Regions from separate parts of the Homo sapiens genome. Here all the other regions are linked to region 4. The links are contacts of gene promoters, found by promoter capture Hi-C in blood cells and fetal thymus (Javierre and others, 2016). All regions are on one chromosome and are shown on one strand. Each heading gives the region's core, a stretch centred on a gene start or on the middle of the fragment in contact. The rest is flanking DNA. Distances are from core to core; before and after follow the strand shown.

Region 1 (2,700 bases), core at 73-2,572, 410 kb before region 4:
ATTTCCCAGTGCCAAAATGTCTTTTTGAACAATTATCAAATCCTGGAGGAACGTTTTAGTCGTGTGGGGTTCCATAGTGTAGTGGTTATCACGTCTGCTTTACACGCAGAAGGTCCTGGGTTCGAGCCCCAGTGGAACCATGAGATGTTACCTAGCGTTTTGTGAGCCAGGTGTTGGGTTTTGCACCAGGAAGCTGGCGACGAACCCGTGTCTCAAGAATTTCTACGGCTTGTTTCCCGCCTGCTGCATCAGCCCGGTTTCTCTTAGCGCTCGGCGCTGAGTCGGCCTCCGCGGCGGCCCCCGTATGGCGCCTCTCTGGAGGTGCAGGCGGCTCCGCTCCACCGAGGCTTCGCTCGCCCCTGCGCCTGCGCCTTTCCACTACCTGGCCAGCCGGCTTCTGGGTTCCTGGGTGTTGCCCCTTGGCTCACCTACCTTCTCCTAAGCCTTGCTTGGGCCATCTCTAAAAATTGCCACCACTAAGTCGAAGGACATCACGAAGGCCGCCCTCATACTTTATTTATTTAAATTAAAAATGCTTTTTGAGGCCAGGCGCGGTGGATCATGCCTGTAATCCCAGCACTTTGGGAGGCTGAGGCGGGCGGATCACGAGGTCAGGAGATCGTGTCCATCCTGGCTAACACGGTGAAACCCCGTTTCTACTAAAAATACCAAAAAAATTAGCCAGGCGTGGTGGCGGGTGCCTGTAGTCCCAGCTACTCTACTCGGGAGGTTGAGGCAGGAGAATGGCGTGAACCCGGCAGGCGGAGCTTGCAGTGAGCCGAGATCGCGCCACTGCACTCCAGCCTGGGAGAGAGCCGTCTCAAAAAAAAAAAAAAAAAAAAAAAGCTTTTTGAAAAATTAATTTCATGCACAGAATTCAGAATCCCTCCACGTATTTCACAACTGATGTTTCCATCCCATCTTTCAATGGTTAGCTGTTTCTTTTGTGACCCTTCAGAAATTGTCTATGCATTCACCAGTATACACGTACATTTACTTTAAAACCCACTTCACGCTTTTTGTACGAAGGTAGCACACATAGGTACCGCTCCCATTTCCTCAACAATATTCTGAAAATCTTCCTATTTCGTTCATACATCTTCGCTTATCCTTTTACTTCCTGTGTTTGGATATATCACAATTCTTTATGCCTTTTGATGAACACTTAAATTGTATCTAGTCTTAGGAACAATGCTGAGCAGATTTCCTTGTTCCTTGGTTTCAGGCAGGGCAATATGTAAAATAATCCTAGCAAAACCTTGAACAGGCACTTACATGGGTAGCTAACTTAATGTTCACAATGTCTCTATTATTATTTATCCCGTTTTACAGACGAGGGAGAGGAAGCATAATGAGATTAAGAAATGGCCCAGGGTTACACCCCTGGTCAGGGACAGAACACAGTACCAACCCAAGCAAGAAGAGTGTTGCCTTTATGTCTCAGAAGAAATTTAATTGATGGCTGGGCGCACTGGCTCACACCTGTAATCCCAGCACTTTGGGAGGCCGAGGTGGAAGCATGGCTTGAACCCAGGAGTTTGAAACCAGCTTGGGCAAAAAAGTGAGACGCCCTCTGCAAACCCGTCCCACCAACCTCCCTGCTCGTCCCCACCAACCCTGCCACAGCTCCTTTCAAAACAGCTTGTATCAAATTACACTCACACCAATATGAAAGCCCTTGTTCTTCCTGTCTCTCTCAAATGAAAATAACTGAATTTTGAGTCAGCTGGAAATGGTTTATTTTGTGTTTTTTTATTGTGAGTTAGGTTGAACGTTTTTCATGTACTTAAAAGCTTCCTTTCTTCCTACTATCTGTTCACCTCTTTTGTTCAATTTTCTTATGTATATATTCTGTTAATTTATGTTTAAATTGGTTTTTAGGCCGGGCGCAGTGGCTCACGCCTGTAATCTGAGCACTTTGGGAGGCCGAGGAGGGCGGATCATGAGGTCAAGAGATCGAGACCATCCTGGCCAACATGGTGAAACCCTGTCTTTACTAAAAATACAAAAATTAGCTGGGTGTGGTGGCATGCACCTGTAATCCCAGCTACTCAGGAGGCTGAGGCAGGAGAATCGCTTGAACCTGGGAGGCGGAGGTTGCGGTGAGCCGAGATCGTGCCACTGTACTCTAGCCTGGTGACAGAGCGAGACTCCGTCTCTAAATAAATAAATAAATAAATAGGTTTTTAGGTGCTCTTTGTAAATTCAGATTTAGGATATATTTTGCAAATGTATCCAGAGTTGCCATTTGTCTTTTGATTATATTTTTGATATTCCGTGCGATGTAGAAATTAAACATTTTTTTGAAGTCAATTTCATCATCTTTTTGGGGGGGGTGCAGGAGAGGGGCTTTTAACATTTCCTGCCTAGAAAATACTTACTCACTTTGAGATTATATTTCAAAAATTATTCTATATTTTCTCCTGATTGTTGTATAGTTAAACATTTTCTAATGTTTCAACCTTCTGTCAGAGGCCTTGGAACCAGAGCAACTGCATCTTGAATAGGGGCTGGGTAAAATAGGGCTGAGACCTACTGGGCTGCATTCCCAGGAGATTAAGGCATTCTAAGTCACAGGATGAGATAGGAGGTCGGCACAAGATACAGGTCATAAAGACCTTTCTGATAAAACAGGCTGTGGTAAAGAAGCTGGCCAAAACCCACAAAACCAGGATGGCAAAGAGAGTGACCTCTGGTGCC
Region 2 (2,700 bases), core at 81-2,580, 420 kb after region 4:
CAAAAGTCAATCTTGGAACCCAGTACCCTTATGCAGGAAATTCTCAAATTAGCCTTCTCAGTCTTTTATAATGAAGAACAGAATAAGGAGGACAGGGCTAAGAAAAAGTAGAAATGCAGGGACCAGAGGCAGGTATATTGTCTTCTCAATACTCAAGAGTCACCCTTCTACAGGGGACCCCTAGGCTGCCCATCAGTGAGACATGACAGAATTGAAATCCTCCCCCTGTCCCCCTTGAACCTGGCTGGCTACTACTGCCCTGACAGCTAGCAAGAGGCCAAATCCACAGAACAACCACTACTACCCCTCTGTCAGCAGGAAGCAGTTATAGAAGACTGACCTTTGTCTATATTCCCCAAATAATTGGGGTCTTGAACTCATGGTGGGGGAAATGTTACACAAGGTAGATAGTCAGGCATGAGTAGGGCAGGAGAAGGCTCCATGCCCCACATCCCACACCCAGATATGTCAGGCAACCATCAGGTGATGGTCCAGTGGTTGTTAACTGTCTCTCTAAAATAATAATTGGTCACAGCCAGTGCCAGCCAGGTTCAGTCTCCGAATACAAAAAAAAACCAAACCTGAAAATGGTGATCAGCAGCTTCCTGACAAGACCTCAGGAGTTGGGCAAGCAGGCTTAAGCATGTGCATTCAGAGGCAAAATGACAGAGTTTAATTATGATATGAACTTCTAGGGACATTTGACTGGTAAGGGAGAATGCCTTAAGTTAGCATGCATACAACTCTATGCTCACACTACACATGCTCACCTCCCACATGCTAGCAGGCTGCTGAACATGTGGACAGCCCACCCCCATGGGAAGAATCAGGGGAGAATGGACACAAGACCCCAAAATTATGCCTACATATAAAACTCAGTCAAAAGGTCCAACTGCACACTTGATCTCTCAGGTCGCCCACTTGGCCCCCTTCCAAATGCACTTTACTTCTTTTCCCTCCTGCTCTGATGTTTTTAACAAACATTTACTGCTACCCCAAAACTTGCCTTGGTCTCTCCTTCTGCCTTCTGCCCCTCAGTCAAATTCTTTCTGTTGAGGAGGCAAGAATTGAGGATGCTACAGACCTGTACAGATGCACCACCAGTAAAGGCTTTTCACTGATGTTCTAAAATCACAAGGTTACCTAGTTATGGAATCTTGCATCAGACCAGTTTTAATGCAACACTCTCTCATAGCCCTACCTTCACTTAGAAGTTACTTTGCTCTCTTCCAAACATCACAGTTCCAAAATAGAACACAGTGACACAACATCTTTCTTCATTTTTCAGGTAGTTGTGATGTTATGAAGTGTTTAGGTAATCCCAATTTGATGCAGCTAGTCAAATATGTAAAAATGCTATTTTTGTATTACTTAGTAATTTCTACAAAATGTACCACAGATCCTAGTATAAGGCTTAAAGATGGAATTAGCCTCAAAGTGTGAGGCTTGGTGAAAGTACAAGTTTTGAATATGATGCAGTAATAATTTTTGAAAGGTTAATTGTTTATATTTAGACCATGTCAGAATGCCCTTTATTAAAATGCCTATATCAAAACATCATGCAATATATAGGACTTTGGCTCAAGTGGGGGAAAGAAGAAAAGGAAGAGGAGGAAAAGAGGAGTGGTGGTAGTAATCAAATAAATAACAAATGTTCAGTGCTTAATATAAGACCTACAATCTACTAAGCACATTGCAGGTATTCATTCCTTTAATCCTTACAAAAATTCTGAGTGATATAGTGCTATTATCCCAACTACCTTTGAGGAAACCAAGGTACAGAGAGACTAAATAACTTTCCCAAGGTTACACAGCTCGTTCTCAGAGGAGTCAGGAGAATCACTAATAGCAACTAAAATTCAAAAGATATTATGTGTATTTAAAAATGTACTTTTTAAATCTAAAATGAAATTAATGGCTGGAATTCATCAAAGGGTAAGAAAAAAGAGCTAAAAAACTCAGAGAAAGCTCCTTGTGTTTTCTACGAGTCTCATTTTCTCTTGGATTTGCTGAGGACTGCAGTTGAAAGGCACTAAAAAAAAAAAACCTGGTCATTAATAAAGAACTTGCTACTCTTGTTTCAGAATCTCCTCTAGCTTTTCTCAATCCTGTATGTTCCTTGGTTGTCTTTCTAGGCTAAGGTATCCTCCATGATGTTACCATTGCAAGGTGCCCAGATGCTGCAGATGCTGGAGAAATCCTTGAGGAAGAGCCTCCCAGCATCCTTAAAGGTGATAATGGAAAATTCTGAGAGGAGTAAAGAAGACAAACTTGATGTGAAAGAGGAGGGAAAGGGACTGATATTTATGATGCACCTATTTTGAGCCAGGCACTATTTCATGTTTTCTCTCATTTAGTATGCCTTACCTCTCTACAAGATGTTTACTGTCATGTCCATGTTGCTGTTAAGAAAATGAAGACTCAGTTAACTGATTTTCTCAATATATCACAAATACTGAGTTGCAATGCTATGATATGAACATAGTTATGCCTTAGTCTAAACACTGCCTTTTGCTCTGTGCTAACTCAAAAAATTACTTCCTTGCTCCTTTCCAAGAAGCATTTTATAATAACATTTGAAATTTGCCCAGAGTTCTACAAAGTTGGCTGAGGCTGCATATTAATGTTTAACTTGTTTATTACAAAAGGACACTTGCCAGTGAGAGGTTAACTAGAATGAGTCTTCTTTGAAATTAATAA
Region 3 (2,700 bases), core at 182-2,681, 310 kb before region 4:
GCATATATGAAATAAATGTGTCTATATTCTGTGTATATGCACATTTAGGAAGAGAGGGGTAGGTAATAGGGAATGTTGATTGAATACCTGATTAATGCCAGGAGCAGTACTAACCTTCACAACTATCATCCTCACAGCATTGATCACATTTCATTCTTTTGACAAACTTGTGAGCAAGTAATGATATTTCCATATTACTGGTGCTAAAAGTGAGATAAGTGTTGGTATGAGTCACAGGTAACACCAAAAAGCATTTAGGGTATTGATTTCAACCTTATACCCTCTTCTTCTCCTGAGTCCACAAGCTCGATAGCTCACATTGTTTAATCTCATTTCTTCTTTTTGTTTGTATACTCCCGCTAATAGAATCGAGCGGCTATGAAGATATACAATGAAGTAGTGGAAGAAGAGCTAGCGACCTGTTACTCTTAGGCTAGCATTTTGAGAAAACTAAGTCAGACAGACTTCCACTCTCCATCTGACTGCTCACCCCCATTTTCTGCTCTCGGAAGGCCCAAGTCTCCTCTGCAGCCTCTGCATGGCTGACTTCATCTCTTGATTTCTCAGGGAATAGATGATGGGGTTCAGCATGGGGGTAATGACCGTGTTATTAATGGATATGGTTGTGTCCATGGGCAGCGTCATGAAGGGCCGGCAGTAGATGTAAACACAAGGCACGAAGTGAAGAGTCACCACCAGCATGTGGGACGTGCACGTGGAGAGGGCCTTGTTCCGCCCCTCCCCAGAGTGGGATCTCAGCATCACCAGAATGACAGTGTAGGAGCCCAGGAGCAGGAGGAACCAGAGCAGGGTCACCAGTCCGTTGTTAGAGATCATGAAAAGCTCCAAAGCAAAGGTGTCAGTGCAGGCCAGTTTTACCACCTGGAGCACATAACAGTAGAAGGCATCCAGTGTGTTGGGGCCACAGAAGGGGAATGGAAGCATCAGAATTACCTGGATGATTGAATGCAAACCACCACTCACCCAAGAAGCCACCACCAAGGCCACCCACACCTCTTTCCTCATCATGGTCACATAGTGCAGGGGCTTGGCGATTGCAAGGTATCTGTCATAGGCCATCACAGAGAGGAAAAAAATATCTGCCCCACCAGCAAAGTGGAAGAAAAAGATCTGTGCCATGCAGTCATTGTAGGAGATGGTTTTCCTGTCTGATAAAAGATCCACCAGGAACTTGGGGACGGTGATAGATGAAAAAACGATGTCCAGGACTGATTTGTTCCGCAGGAGAAAGTACATAGGAGTGTGTAGGCGGGACTCACAGGTAATAGTGACCACAATGAGTGCATTTCCCAGGACTGTTGCTACATACACAGCAAAGAAGACCACAAACAAGAAAAACTCCAGCTCTCGGGAACGTGTAAGTTCCAGGAAGAAAAACTCCTTCACATTAGTGTGGTTGATCTGGTCCATGATGGGGATGACTCTCTTCCAGGTCCTACCTTTGATGAAGATATGTTAGAACTTGGATTATGGTGACATGAGGTGGCAAAATCATTGATCACATACTGCTCTCAAGCATCCAGGTCATCATGACTACACAGAAAAACTGGGCCAGTCTTCTCTTTGTGGTCTGGAAATTCTTCTTTCATATGGTTCTTCTTTCTTATTGTAAATACCTTGGGTTAACAGGAAAAAACCATCACATGTCTGTATCCTCACTCTGACCAGAGAGAGATGGATGGACTATGGCCATTTGCCTATGCTTTACCAAGGGCTTTCACCTGCAATAGCTCATACTGATTTCAATTCTCATGAAGTTTCTGAAGAGTCTTTAGTATGGTTATCTCCATTTTATATACGGGGAAACTGAAGCTTTACAGCAGTTAATGACTTACATCTGCATAGTCGCAAAATTAGTGAATTGTAAATTGAGGATTCAAATACAAATCAATCTCCTGACTTGAGAAAGATTCCCTCCTTGACCAAATGTTGGTTAGGCTCCTCTGAGCCCTTTTCTTGACTATGACTCAACCTTGACCTTCTGTGTCTGTCTTTGCTGAGCCCAATTTTAACAGGAATCTTGCCAAGTCAGTTTAATGAGAATTCCACACCCTTGAAATCTAATCAAATTCCTCACCCCTTACCCTTTTATATATTTATTATTTTTAACCTCATCCCTCACCCTCAATATCTAAGTCCTTGGCCAGTCTTTAGCAAGAATTCTTTTATGCCAGTTTAGCAAGAACCACCCTACCTTTGATATCACTTCTTAGTAATTTTCAATCCACTGACCTCCCTCACTCTGCTCATTGCTTATAAATCTTCACTTGTTTTCACTATATTTCGAGTTGAGCTCAATCTTTTTCTTCTATTGCAAGAGTTTTAAATGAAATCTATCTTCCTGTCTTTAATAATTGTCTGGTGAATAATTTTTCTTTAACATAACAGTCTCCAGAGGTTTTTCCACTGTACAACTCTGAGAAATCAGAGAGTCTGGGGCTTACTTTGGCTTACCGGAATTCTAGTGTGTATATAAGGCTTAAACAGTTTATTAAGTAGTTTGACTACCTAATCCTTATCTCATCCCTTATAAAAAGAGAAGGGTCAGGCCCTCATAAGTACTCCTCTTTGGCACTCTGGGAAGCCTGGACCTTGCTATTGACACACAGGGCTCTTTGTATAGAGCCACAGTCATTGTTCAGGGCATGTTTTAGTATCACAGAAAAACTGATCATTAGA
Region 4 (2,700 bases), core at 107-2,606:
CTCCAAGAATGTCAAATGTTGGCTCCCAGTAATATCAAAGCAACCTGTTGATAAGACAAAGCTAAGTTTCTTGCTCACTTAGGTAATGGAGAACAATAACTTGACAGAATTTAAGTGGTGTCTCAGAGAGGGAAGAGCAAGTTTGGGCTATATGTATTGAGATTTTGAAGTCCCATTGTAAGTCTAATATTTAATGAGGGGAATTGGTTAGAATTGAGTCAGCTACGGGTAAAAGTTTAGGATTGGTAGATAAAACAAGGCTAGGATTTTGAGGTAAAGGTTCAAAGTCTTAGAATGTAAACTGTTCTTTGATGTTTTCCATTGAAGAGTGGTTGGATCTTTGAAGAAGATACTGGATTAAGCAATAAAGATATTTGCAACTTTCCGGTCCCTGGCAAAAGTTTCTTGAAATAGTAAATGTATGTTGATGAAAATAATGGAATAAGAAGTCAGGTTAATGTAGTTGGCAAGCTATGTGAGTGTAGATGGCTTCAGTTCTCACAATAGTGAACATACCTGATAATGTACTCAACATTTGTCACTTAGAGTATTTTATCCTGGAAAGAAGCGTAGTTGGGAAAACGCACTTGAGATGATGTTTGCTGCACACAGAATTCGGACACAGAGATGTGAATCTCCTTAGGAACCATTTTCATAAAGTTAACATTGGGTCTTAATAGACATCAGTTTTTAAAAATTAGAACAGGCTTGGGCACTGCAAAAGAAAGACACATCCGTTCACTTGGCTGTTCTTTTTAAGTTTCCAGGGAGAGCGTCAGTGCCCCTTTCAACAATAAAAGCCCGCAGGAGTGCAGATTTTATTTACCCTGTCCCCACCAGCATCCTGCTGCGGCCAATGAATCCTGGCAAAACTCCAGGTCAGCCCCAGAACCAAAGAGTAACTCACCTAAGAGGAAGGTCCGTTCCCACCAAGTCTCAGACGCCTGAACTCGTGATTTTTAGGGACTTTCCCTTCCAGTCCCTTGGAATCCAGCACTTTGGTTGGAGAACAGAACTCACTTGGGGAATGGCGCGTCTGGCCAATGGAATGAAAGATACTGGAGTTTGTCTTTTCTCTTCAGGCAGCAACTCACCTACTTCGGAAGCCGATTGGCTGCGCTGGGGACACCTGTTGGCGTGCAAAAAAGAGTGGTTGGAAAGGCAAGGCCGAGGGGGCGCGCCTACCCTACCCACCCACAGCGCTCCTCCTTGACGCCGCGAGCAGGACCCTGTCTCACTGACCCCGTGCCCACGGCGGTCCTTGCCTGCTTCTATTCTCCCGGTTTCCCCAGTCCCGAGTATTGGAAAGCGAGAGCGAAAGCGAAAGCATCCTAGTCGCCGGTAGGCTGGCCTGGGCCGGGCTGGAGAGGGAGCAGGAAATAAAAACTCGGGTGTGGGAGGAGCTGGGACGCTGGCGGCAGAGCCACTGTGGCAGCTTGAGTCTCGCGCGCGCAGGAAGCGGAGGTGGAAGTTGGGGCGCAGGAATGTGGCTGTCCCCGCCTGTAAATCATGGTTGGGGAGGAGTCGCGGAGGCACCAGGCTGGGGTCTGCAGCGCGCCATCTGCTGCAGCACACAGGAGGCGCTGAGGCTAGTTGGGTAAGTGGGGAGATTTCAGGCACTTCCGAGGGGGCGGCATCCCCAGCAGGTGGGATAGGCCCGGTGACTAGGACAAAATCACGAAGAAGCCGCGGATGCAGGAAGAGTAAACTCCCTTGTCATAAATCGATTCTCCAAACGTTCATCAATATGTGGAGACGTTTATGATAGTGATGAAGAAGATGATATGGGCTCTAGGAATATGCATCTCAAAGCTGATGATCGAAGAAGATTGGAGAGGGTTTTCAAGGCAGCCTGCTGTTTAAGGACCTGCATTCTGAGTAGATGTGTATTGGAAAAGGCGATTACAGTCACAAAGGGGACAACTTTTATGCAATTGACAGAGGACTATATGATGTATATAAACAGATAGGGTTGAAAGGTGTGTTGGTAACTACAAAACACATGGGAATTTGAAGGAAGGAACTGGCCTTAAATGCATGTACAATACACCAAGAGAAGCTAAAATTACTGCTTCATCTTCTGTGGGTTCTTTGGGGTTTGGATAGAGTAACCTTAAAACATATTTGAATGCTGACTTTTTCTATGAGACTCACTTTTGGAATCTGTGCATTCCTACATTCACAAAGGGTAATCACAGCTAGTACCCAGCATCCAAACAATAGCAGCCAATAATTCTAATCTGGAGAAAATTTTCTTTTCTCTCTCTTTCTCTCTCTCTCTCTCTTTCTTTCTTTCTCTTTCTTTCTTTCTTTCTCTTTCTTTTTTTCTTTTTCTTTCCTTCTTTCTTTCTCTTTTTTCTTTTCTTCTTCATTCCTTCCTTCCTTTCTTCCTTTCTTTTTTCTCTTTATTTCTTCTCTTTCTTTCTTTCTTCTTTCTTTTTTCTTTTATCTTTCTTTCTTTCTCACTTTTCTCCTTCCCTCCCTCCCTCCTTTCTTCCTTCTTTCTCTTTTGCCTGTTTTACATTTTAATGTGTAAGCAAATAGTGATTAAAGGACAATAGGCTTAACATTTTCTAAAACATGGGTGTTCAGAATTGAATATACTGATAAAATTTGTTTCCAAAAGGAAGGATTATATACTAGGTGGGAGTGTAAATTAGTTCAACCATTGTGGAAAACAGTGTGGCAATTCCTCAAAGA
Region 5 (2,700 bases), core at 97-2,596, 470 kb before region 4:
AACACAAAGATAATGTTTGAGATGATGGATATCCCAATTACACTGATTTGATAATTATACATTGAATACATGTATCACAATATCAGATGTATCCCTGAAAATATGTACAACTATATCAGTTTAAAGATATAAAAAAAATTTTCTGTCCAAAGTTAAATATGTACAACTACGATATATCAGTTTAAAGATACAAAAAATAATAATTTTCTGTTCAAAGTTAAGCATATACATGGCACCTATGATGCTAAAACCAAGGGCCTTTAGGTCTGGAAGAGACACATAAAGTCAGGTCCTCGCGAATCTACTTCTGAAGGGGACAGAATCGGTATAGGCATATGACAGTCTAGAATCAAGACACAAGGGGTGTGGAGCGATAAAGAGCAAACAGGGAAGGGAACTAGGGGGACCATGGATCCAGGAAGGGGCTGGAAAAGCTACTTCTGGGCACCCCTGGAATCTGGGTATCCAGCTTCGAGTTAGAAGGGGGTCCTTCAAGAGAGCCTCAGGCGGGGGCTGACTGCCGAGAGTTACTCTGTCCTCCAGGTTCTTCCTAACAAGAAGCTACGAAGTTCTTATTCAGAAAAACGGAACACGACATCACACCCACGTGAAAAAAACGCTTTTAAGAGGCCAAGTCACTTTCACCTCCCACCAACTTGCCAAAGGCTGAAAGCAGGCGGACACGCCCCCAAGCGCTCTTCTCCGATTTCATTGGTTGCCCCGGCCTGCTCCTCATTAGGTCTCTCTCACTGGTCAGCAATGCCGCTTTCACAGCCAATTCTCAGAACCAATCATCTCCAACTATTGCCCCGCCTCTCCACCACGTGAGTGGCATAGGTGCCAACCAATAAAAAAAGAAAATAAGGATGTAAAGACGAGACTCCTTCCCTTTTTCCTCAACTCGTTCAGTAAATGGTAGAAAAGGTGGAGCAGCTGATACCAACCACCAATCCATGAGGGCGGAAAAGGATGATGAGAAGAGCGATGGGAGGGGGTGACGTGGCAGTGACAGGCGCATAAACTGAAATGAATGGCGGAAACAGCAGCCAATCGGCGATCAGATTGGCCGGGCATTCCGCATTCTCCCGTCCTCCCTGAGCGCTGGAAACTTCAGGAAAGCACCAATGAGCTTCCCCAAAAGTCTGATTGGCCTTTATCTGAACCAATCAAAGGTGGGTCTGGCGGACGCGTCCCACCCCAGGCTCTCACTGGGCGCTGTAGAATGACAGGCCCGAGAGAAATGCCAATATCCGCGGGGTCTTCCTCAAGTGACACTCAGCGGCACCAATCGACGTCCTTCTTCCCGGCGGCCGAGCCCTCCTCCCCGCGGCTGGCCGGGCGGGGCGGGGACGCTGCGCGGCGGTGGCTGATGCGGTAGCCGTGTGGGGCGCTCCGGGCGGCGACGGCGGCTCTCGTAGGCGGTTCCGGTCTTGTATCTCCAGGCGGCGGCGGCTCATGGCGGCGACGGAGCTGAGAGGAGTGGTGGGGCCAGGCCCGGCAGCCATTGCAGCACTTGGCGGCGGCGGCGCCGGTCCCCCAGTGGTGGGAGGAGGCGGCGGCCGCGGAGATGCGGGGCCAGGCTCCGGGGCCGCGTCAGGGACGGTGGTCGCGGCGGCGGCGGGAGGCCCGGGCCCGGGGGCCGGGGGAGTGGCGGCGGCTGGCCCGGCCCCTGCGCCGCCGACTGGGGGCTCGGGCGGCTCGGGCGCTGGGGGTTCGGGCTCGGCTCGAGAGGGCTGGCTCTTCAAATGGACCAATTATATCAAAGGCTACCAGCGGCGATGGTTCGTGCTGAGCAACGGGCTCCTGAGCTACTACAGGTAACTGCTTCCGGGGCGCTGTCGCTCACCTTGCCTCCCCCATATCTGCCAACAGTCCCAGCTCCGGCATTACCGCCAGCCGGCACCGCAGCCAGGGTTGCCCCAGGCCCCTTTTCGTCATCTGTGCGGATTGACAGCCCAGGGGTCGGAGCCCACTGTCACGAAAGTGAAAAGCCCCTGGACGTACACCTCCCCTCCCCTCGGGTTACCCACTCTTGGTGCCTTATCTTCCCTTCGCTCCCGGCCTTTCCAGTCATTAGTCGTTTGGAGAGCGTCTGTGCTTCCATTGTATTTCCACCAGCACATGGGTGCAATTATTAATTCTGCAAGCAAGGCACTGGTGTAGGTACTAAGGGAACACATGCAGCAGAACAAACCCGAGGCACTCCTCCCAAGGAACTTACAGTGGAAGTCCCAAGTTGTAGCTGTCAGTGCCCAGTCTCCAAAACTCAAGGTTATTCGTAGCTCTGGATGTACCCGTCCTTGCTCCCTTCACATTCAGACATAAGGGCATCACACACACAGGGTGGCTTCGGTATTCCGTCCCCTTTCTGCCTTATCTCTCCAAGACTTTGCATGTGCTTTGGCCTCTGGACAGCCCAGAATGGAGATGTGCACCCCAGTGCTGCTTTTATTTTTGCTTGCCCCACCTCCTCCCGTGGAAATGATTAAGTGTTTTATCTGGCATTTCTGTGATTTTTTGGTTAGTTAGGATTAACTTTTATTAAAAGAAGAATCCATGTCTTTGGTGTGATTACTTCTGTTCAACAAGGTTTATTTTGGACTGTTTAATATATATTTATGGTGACTCATAACCTGGCCATCACATGGCACGCTTTTGGGCTAAAAAGGATAGAGGAGTTAAGATAGGTGATTTGGGGAC

Evidence for each region. The method cuts DNA at HindIII sites, captures the fragments that hold promoters and counts their contacts. A CHiCAGO score of 5 or more calls a contact.
Region 1: a contact is called between a fragment that was not itself captured here and the fragment with the promoter of FAM111A in region 4, in 1 of 17 cell types (total CD8 T cells). The highest score is 6.3, in total CD8 T cells.
Region 2: a fragment that was not itself captured here is called in contact with the fragment with the promoter of FAM111A in region 4 in 2 of 17 cell types (non-activated CD4 T cells and naive CD8 T cells); the score reaches 5.9 in non-activated CD4 T cells.
Region 3: the fragment with the promoter of OR4D6 here is called in contact with the fragment with the promoter of FAM111A in region 4 in 5 of 17 cell types (M2 macrophages, neutrophils, naive B cells and 2 more); the score reaches 6.1 in M2 macrophages.
Region 5: the fragment with the promoter of OSBP here is called in contact with the fragment with the promoter of FAM111A in region 4 in 1 of 17 cell types (non-activated CD4 T cells); the score reaches 5.0 in non-activated CD4 T cells.

The regions. Positions count from the first base shown.
Region 1 is chr11:59,548,069-59,550,768 of GRCh38, reverse strand. It overlaps TRV-TAC1-1 (tRNA-Val (anticodon TAC) 1-1), which reads left to right and starts at 68; the gene lies at 68-140. All of the region lies in intron 3 of LOC102723575 (a long non-coding RNA gene), which reads right to left. RefSeq lists enhancers at 1-96, 252-471. The HindIII fragment of the contact is 947 bases long and covers 849-1,795 here.
Region 2 is chr11:58,723,947-58,726,646 of GRCh38, reverse strand. It overlaps GLYAT (glycine-N-acyltransferase), which reads left to right. Exons shown (of 6, transcript NM_201648.3): 2 at 2,136-2,231. The coding sequence starts at 2,151. Among named protein-coding and RNA genes, the nearest start is that of GLYAT, 6.6 kb to the left of the region's middle. The HindIII fragment of the contact is 3,793 bases long and covers 1-2,700 here.
Region 3 is chr11:59,455,692-59,458,391 of GRCh38, reverse strand. It overlaps OR4D6 (olfactory receptor family 4 subfamily D member 6), which reads right to left and starts at 1,431. Exons shown (of 1, transcript NM_001004708.1): 1 at 487-1,431. The coding sequence starts at 1,431. The coding sequence ends at 487. The HindIII fragment of the contact is 6,869 bases long and covers 1-1,835 here.
Region 4 is chr11:59,141,512-59,144,211 of GRCh38, reverse strand. FAM111A (FAM111 trypsin like peptidase A) reads right to left here and starts at 1,356. Exons shown (of 6, transcript NM_001312909.2): 1 at 1,266-1,356; 2 at 908-1,129; 3 at 517-715. It overlaps FAM111A-DT (FAM111A divergent transcript), which reads left to right and starts at 1,404. Exons shown (of 4, transcript NR_110184.1): 1 at 1,404-1,597. It also overlaps the pseudogene LOC100422399. RefSeq lists an enhancer at 1,139-1,588. The HindIII fragment of the contact is 3,476 bases long and covers 1-2,700 here.
Region 5 is chr11:59,614,420-59,617,119 of GRCh38, reverse strand. OSBP (oxysterol binding protein) reads left to right here and starts at 1,346. Exons shown (of 14, transcript NM_002556.3): 1 at 1,346-1,817. The coding sequence starts at 1,456. It overlaps LOC101927226 (a long non-coding RNA gene), which reads right to left and starts at 1,166. Exons shown (of 3, transcript XR_001748237.2): 1 at 945-1,166. RefSeq lists an enhancer at 884-973 and silencers at 1,174-1,473, 1,494-1,713. The HindIII fragment of the contact is 16,614 bases long and covers 1-2,700 here.